Linked DNA regions of Homo sapiens: region 1 is linked to region 2. Evidence: promoter capture Hi-C in human tissues and cell types (Jung and others, 2019). All regions are on one chromosome and are shown on one strand. Each heading gives the region's core, a stretch centred on a gene start or on the middle of the fragment in contact. The rest is flanking DNA. Distances are from core to core; before and after follow the strand shown. Region 1 has its middle 17 kb from the start of PAQR9. Region 2 holds the start of PCOLCE2 (procollagen C-endopeptidase enhancer 2).

What was found. The method cuts DNA at HindIII sites, captures the fragments that hold promoters and counts their contacts. A contact is called where the count stands out against the background at its distance.
Region 1: a fragment that was not itself captured here is called in contact with the fragment with the promoter of PCOLCE2 in region 2 in 1 of the 25 tissues and cell types used here (aorta).

What each region holds. Positions count from the first base shown.
Region 1 is chr3:142,944,525-142,948,159 of GRCh38, forward strand. No RefSeq gene overlaps it. Among named protein-coding and RNA genes, the nearest start is that of PAQR9, 17 kb to the right of the region's middle. The HindIII fragment of the contact is 4,592 bases long and covers 1-3,635 here.
Region 2 is chr3:142,886,976-142,890,768 of GRCh38, forward strand. PCOLCE2 (procollagen C-endopeptidase enhancer 2) reads right to left here and starts at 2,108. Exons shown (of 9, transcript NM_013363.4): 1 at 1,839-2,108; 2 at 694-802. The coding sequence starts at 1,921. It overlaps LOC124909443 (a long non-coding RNA gene), which reads left to right and starts at 1,289. Exons shown (of 2, transcript XR_007096122.1): 1 at 1,289-1,484; 2 at 2,616-3,792. RefSeq lists a silencer at 2,051-2,100. The HindIII fragment of the contact is 12,495 bases long and covers 1-3,793 here.

The DNA.
Region 1 (3,635 bases), core at 504-3,003, 57 kb after region 2:
ATTTTAACTGTTACTGGGGCAGTATTGACATAAATAGAAAATGAAGCTGCTTTTTTCATTGTTTGGAGGTTTCGTTTTTAGAAACTAGGGCAATATTATATCAAACTTGTTTCCTCCAACAAGGACTCCCACGTCTAGTAATGTATTCGTTTGTTCATTCATTAATTCATGCAAATATTAAATAAGTGCCTATAATGTGCCACATACTGTGCTGGGTGCTGAGGATCTCACTCTGCAGCCTGAGAACTTAGGTTCTAACAAGGAAAGGGAAACAATAAGCAACGGAATTTCACGTGGTGATATATGGTGTGTAGAAAGTAAAACAGGGTGAAGCCAGGTGAATGTACATGTATGTGGGCATGAAGGGGACAGAGGCAACTGCAGCTGTTTTTTTCTTCTTTCTGTTTTAGAGATAGGGGTCTCACTATATCCCCAGCCTGGTTCAAATTCTTGGGCTCAAGGCCTCTAGTAGCTGGGACTACAGGAAGGAGCCACAGCTCCTGGAGAAGGGGAAGGGGAACCTACTTTAGATAAGTGGTCAAAGGTGGTGGTGACATTTGAGTTGAGATCCAAACGGTGGAAAGGAGCTGGGCATTCATATGAAATGGGAGAGTTCTCTGATCCACCTGCAGGATGTGCAGCAGGGTTGTGGCTCGCCTGTTTGGTTACTGTCACTGCTCAAACCCCTGACAGGAATGGCAGCATGCAGACGGGCAGGTGCAGGAGCCAGGGCAAGTGCTTTGGGCTCTGGCCCTGTGGTAGTGTCTAGGGGTGGGTGCCTGTGCTCCCGGTGTTACAATGCTCTTTCAGCCTTGCTGTCCATGGACAGCTTAAGTGTTAACCAGCTCAATGGATGCTCTACTTTTTTGCAAGGGCAAAGGGCCAGGGTGACAGCTTTCTATATCCTGAGCGCTTGCCTAGCATCCCAGAAGAATCTGGTCACACACAGGCTTGAAGGATGAATGTAGGGTTTTATTGAGTAGTGGAGGTGGCTCTCAGTAGGATGGATGGGGAGGTGGAAGGGGGATGGAGTGGGAAGATGATCGTCCCCTGGAGTTTGGCCATTCAGCAGTGGAACTCCTCTCTGACCACTCCCAGCTGAACTCTTGGCATTCAGATGTTCCTCCTCTTCTTTTTCTCTGCTATGCCATTTGTCTGCTTGTCTCCCCGTCTCCTTGTTGGCTCATCTGCTTCTGGAGCCCGGGGTTTGGGGTTTCTATGGGTACAGGACTGGGGAGCATCGTGGGCCAAAAGGTAACAGAAATGCCTGTTCCTACTTAGGGCTGAGAGTCTCCAGGCTTAAGGGTAGGGCCTTTGCTGGGGAACCATTCTCTTCTACCCCGTATTTCCCTGTCTCTTGTCCGTATCACAGAGATCTTAGGGAAGAGATATCTAGAGCTGTGCTGTCTAGCACAGGGGAGACTGAAGCTCTTGAAATGTGGCTAATGTCACATGTTGAAGTGATATTTTGGATATAGTTGCTTAAAGAAAACATTACTAAAATCAATTAAACACCTAACAATTGGCAGTATCTTTGCTGGATTCCTCATTACCAACATTTCTAGCACTCAATCTAAGTATAAGCACTACAACCCTGTCACTATCTCATGCTTGAAACAAATTAACATGGTTAACACCTATAATTCCACTAATTCAATTCATCCAATTGTTTGTACAGTTTTACACTTTTTTGTGGCTTTAGAAAATTAAAGAAATACATACATGGTTTACATTATATTTCTGTTGGACATCACTGGTCTAAAGAGAAAATCTTAATCCAGTTCTTGCACACAGGTCCCTTGGATCCTCATGGATTGGGTGTGTTATGAGTTTGACCTAGGCCAGGCACAGTGGTTCTTGTCTGTAATCCCAGCACTTTGGGAGGCTGAGGTGGGAGAATTCTCTGAGACCAGGAGTTCGAGACCAGCCTGGGTAACAAAGTGAGATCCCCGTTTCTACAAAAATTAAAGAGTTTGAGCTAATAAAAACACTAGCTACAATGTACTGAACAGTTATGGTGCGCCAGGTGCGGGGCAAAATTGCTTTACATCCATTCATTGTATCCTCATGCTGTGAATGGAAAGGGGTCCAGATCCAGACCCCAAGAGAGGGTTCTTGAATCTCATACAAGAAAGAATTCAGGGCAAGTCCATACAGTAAAGTGAAAGCAAGTTTATTAAGAAAGTAGAAGAATAAAAGAATGGCTACTCCATAGGCAGAGCAGCCCTAAGGGCTGCTGGTTGCCCATTTTTATGGTTATTTATTGATTGTATGCTAAACGTGGGGGGGGGGGCGTTATTCATGCCTCCCTTTTTTAGACCACATAGGGTAACTTCCTGACGTTGCCATGGCATTTGTAAACTGTCATGGCACTGGTGGAAGTGTAGCAGTGAGGACGACCAGAGGTCACTCCCTTTGCCACCTTGGTTTTGGTGGGTTTTAGCTGGCTTGTTTACTACAACCCGTTTTATCAGCAAATTCTTTATGACCTGTATCCTGTGCCGACCTCCTGTCTCATCCTGTGACTTAGAATGGCTAACCTCCCGGGAATGCAGCCTGGTAGGTCTCAGCCTTATTTCGCCCAGCCTCCTCTATTCAAGATGGAGTTGCTCTGGTTCAAACGCTTCTGACAATACCACTATGAAGTAAGAAATACTTCCCGCTCTATTTTACAGATGAGGAAATGGAAGATGAGAGGCAGAGTAGGTTGCCTAAGGTGATAAGAGGATGAAATAACGGCGCGAGAAGTCGAACCCACTCCAGATCCGCCCATGCAAGACACAAGAAGCCACAGGAGGAGGAAGGGGCAGGCGGGAACTTAGAGCACCTTGGCGTGCCCAGCCCGGCGCCTACTCCCTCTCCTCTGCGCCGCTGGAGGCCTCGAGTTCGTGTCCTCTCGGCGCCTGCCTGGCTCCCCTTCCGAGGCCGCAGCGCCCTGCCATGCTGGCCTCCCCGCGCTCTCCCTGAGACCCAAGCCGACTCCCAGGCCGACCCCGCCGCCTGCGCCCAGCTGTGTCGGATCTACCTGCCCGCGACCGAGGAGCTCAGGGACTGCCCCAGGAGATGCTGCCTCGCCCGACAGGCGCCCCGGCCCCTGCCACGCCTCCCGCGCCTGGAAAGCACGACATCCCGCAGGCAGCATATCTGAGCCTGCATCGGCCTGCGGGAGTCCAGCCCGAGCCATTTTCCTGCCTGTCCCCACTCCTGACAGCCTGTGCCCAGTTCCCCTCAGCTCTCCCATGGTTCTCCAACGGTCCTTTCTGGGAACCCTTACAGCTTGGAGATCGTCTCACGGTGACCAGGGTGTTTCTGAGTTGTGTGTGTGTGTGTGTGTGTGTGTGTGTGTGTGACCACTGGAATGTCAGAATCCCCCATCCCTACCTTGGAAGTCCCGCTTTTTCCTCCCTACTGTTAAGGAACTTCAGACTGCCCCTCCACAAGGTTGCCTGCCTGGGCAGTCATCCAACTCCATGTCCACCGCAAGGACAGTGGGGACAGTGCACCAAGACACAAGGACCAGGCTGGACCCTAAGATGCTCCGAACACCTGGGCAGCTGTTCCAGACACACCGTCCCATTTTTCAGGATGGCACCTGTTTCCTGTTAGAGATTTCTTAAGGGAGATTGTGAATAATC
Region 2 (3,793 bases), core at 858-3,357:
GTGAAGAAGGTAACAGTCAATGCTATGCTGACTGGAAAGATGACTCACTCTAGTTGACTCTAAATCAGTTAAAAAATATATGGCTGTCTCTAAATCCAGCTTATCTTGACTCAGCATAATCTATGTTATTACTAATCAGCATGGACTTTTTATTGGCCCTTGGCTGCTATTTAGATTCCCACCCCCCCATTCTCTATTCTTAGACTGCCTTTAGAGGTGGTTTCAACCCAGGAACATTAAGTGGGCTTTTTTTATTTTTTTTCTTTTTCCTTTCCTAATGAGCATAGAGTAGTCAAAGCACTATCTTTGATCTTCCATTTCCCACTGGGAATTTATGAAGGCACGAGCAACAAAAAACTTATGAAGGTCATTACAACAGGCCTTTGACTGAAAACAGCTTTAATTATGAATCTATAAAACTCAACTGAGTCACACTGGGCTTTCAGAAACACATCTGCTCTGAGAATTTATTCCTTCAAGCATTATCTTGTGCCCTTTGTAATCACTAATGCAGGACACGACTAGATCTATTATATTAATAAAAATCTTCCCAATAGTTGGGGTAAATCCAACATTTCACTATTTCAGGCATTTGCCTCTTACTCAAATCCTAACACCAGAGGAAAAAGGCAGCAGCCTCACACTGTTGCCAACACCCACTTCCAGGAGAATACCTTTTTAAAAAATGCTTACTGTGATTTTCCAAGTACATTTGCTATTTGGAGGGTACACTCCAGGAAAACCTTCACTGCCAATAAATCCAGACTCTCCAGTAAGAATGCCACCACATGTGAAAACAGGTCTGGGAACATAAAAGAAGAAAAGATAATGTAATTTGAAACATGGTCTAACAATCTGATGTTACCTTCAGAAAGGTGTAGCCTATTAATATAAATAAAAGTTAATGTTGATTAATCAATGCTTGCACCATATAAGGGATCTGAAAATTTGCTAGCTCCTAGAATATTTAAATTATAGCCTGACAAAGCATTCAGTCCAGCGCCATCTGTCTCCATCATAATAACACAAGATTATATATATGTATAATCAAGTCCTCGGCATTGTGGCAAAGTCTTGTAGGAAAATGGTAAATACATCAATTTAACTGGGGGAGTGGGAGAGAAGGTAAGAGCCAGGCTGAATGAGAAGCATGGTTTTAAAGAAAGACAGGCAAGCAATTGGTTAATATAAAAAAAGTTTGTCGTTCCCATATTTGGAGAGATGCCCAGTTCTCCTCCCCCTTTCTGAAAATCACTCGCCATTGGCAGAGCTTCCCATCGAAAGGGAGGCTGATGTTGATGGAGGCTGAAGAGGTGATGCCAAAGTTGGCCACCGGGCAGGTCCCACAGCCCAGCTCCTGGGGCCTTCCAGAGGTTGGCGAAGAGTTAACTTTCCGGAGCGGCTCCCTAGGCGCCGCGCCGCTAGGGTTGTTCCCTAGTTTACGTCTCTGGGCAAAGCCTCTCGGGGAAGGAAAAAAAACAGCGGTAAACCAAAATCCACATATTTGGGCCCCAGTGCTTCCCTCTGGCCCCATAGACACGAGGAGAGGGGAGACACAAGTCAGATTAAGCCCCGCCACGTGGTGGCCAAGCCAGCTGCAGGGCCATCCGGCAGGCCGGGCTGGGGACCCAGGAGGGAGCCCCGCGAGCAAGGATGGGTCCCGAAGTCCCGGGCTTAGCCTACCCGAGGGTGGCGGACGCCTGCACCGCGCGGGAGCGCAGGGTCGAGCGCTGGGTCACCCAGGCGCGCCGAAGCGGGTTGAGTAAAGCAGCAGGCGAGGCTGCAGGGGTGGAGGAAGGGAAAGGAGAGAAAGGGAGCCCGGGCAGGGGTCGCGTTACCTCTCTGGGGACTGCTGCCGCGAGAGCTGGGTGGCGGCAGCCAGCAGCAGGCAGAGTGGCGCCCAGGCGTTCGCGCCCCTCATGGCAGCGTAGACGCTCGGGGTTTGCACCCCACGGCGCGCGCGCCGGCACACACGCCCCTCCGCACCCACCGCGCTCACACCGCCGCTCACACTGGCAGCAGCGCTGGCTCACACCGGCGCTCGGCTGCCCGCGCGCTCCCTCTCACGCGCGCACCGCCGCGGGGCGGCCCAGGTAGCCGGGGGATACGCGGCCGGCAGGGCGGAGGCACTTTTAAAGGCGATTATGGTGCCGTCTGACTCGACGCTTAGTTTCCCCTGAGGAGCTGCTCTGGCAGCCACAGGCCACTGCTGAATATCCCGTTTGTTCTCCGGCGGCAGGAGGGGCGGCTCCGAGGCCAGAGCCGCCCCCTCTCGTGGGGCGGGCGAACGTCTCCTCCCGGCACCCCGGGACCGACGGGTCCTCTCTCGTCCAGCCCTCAGGGACCCCGGGGAGAAGAGGAACCCCTTGCGGAGTGGCACCCCAGCGGCCCGGGCCCCGACGCCCAGAGACGATTCTCAGGGAGGGCTTCTGGTTTTGCTTTGGGGAATGTTTTTCCCAGTTGCTTTTAAATAAAAAGTAATAGCGCTTGCTGGCTGCTGGAAAGCCTGGGGGTCCTTCTTTGTCTCCTTCAAAACCCAGATCCAAGGAAAGAAAGGGAAAAGGGATTTTATTGTATTTTAACTTCTGTGCTTATTCTCCTCTCTCTCTCTCTAGATACTTTTCTTTTTTTTACTGGTATGACAATGACAAGGAAGACAGTCTCTGTGCCGGGATTTAAACACGGGTTTTCAGGCGAGCGATTTCTGTGTGAACTGTCATTAAATGTCAGATAATGAAGACGGAACCAAATCAGCAAATCTCACCATCCCATGTCATGTTCTGAAAATGGTGTTTCTCTGCTTGCATCTCTCTGTTCTTAGACCTTTCCAACAGCATCTTTCTGTGGTATTAACGGGTTAAAATTTACGGAGAATTCGTTTTTCTTAGACGAACAATTCTAGCCTTGTGGAATCAATACTCTCTTTTACTTAATTACAGAAATATAATTTTAAACATTTATTTTGTTAAGAGCTTCCCAATAACCAGGGATTAATAAAAGAATGACAGGAACAGACTAGATTCATAGAGATTTTTAATAATCACCAGCTATGGGAGATACAGCTTAACTTTGATGCCTCACGTTGTTCCTTCTAAATTGTTTTCACCTTTCTAAGCAAGAAAATTAAGTATTAAAGTAGTTCTTATCGAGACTTTATTTCTAATAATGAGCTGTTAAGAATCTAAACACGGGTGGGCGCGATGGCCCACGCCTGTAATCCCAGCACTTTTGGAGGCCGAGGCGGGCGGATCACGAGGTCAGGAGTTCGAAACCAGTCTGGCCAAGATGGTGAAACCCCGCCTCGACTAAAAATACAAAAAATTAGCCAGGTGTTGCGGTGTGCGTCTGTAATCCCGGGTACTCGGGAAGCTGAGGCAGAAGTATCGCGTGAACCCGGGAGGCGGAGGTTGCAGTGAGCCGAGATCACGCCATTGCACTCCAGCCCCGGGCGACAGAGTGAGACTCCATCTCAAAAAAGAAAAAAAAAAAAAAAAGAACCTAAACACTCCTGGCAAGGAAGTAAGTAAAACTGGCTACAGGAAATATTCTGACTTTTCATAGTGAGTGCACCCTGAAGCCTATACTAGGAACCAGAATATACGGACAGGACTTAGATTATCTTACCATTTTTTTAAAAAGTGAAGGCAAAAACATCATAAAGTACAACTTTCAAAACTTCTCTACAGGCACCACACCCTTTATGACATTAAAAAAAAGGGTGACAGAATTTGGCAAACTGCTTTATATCCTGAAACACTCTCAACCCAATAAAAATGTCTTTAAAACAGGGAAG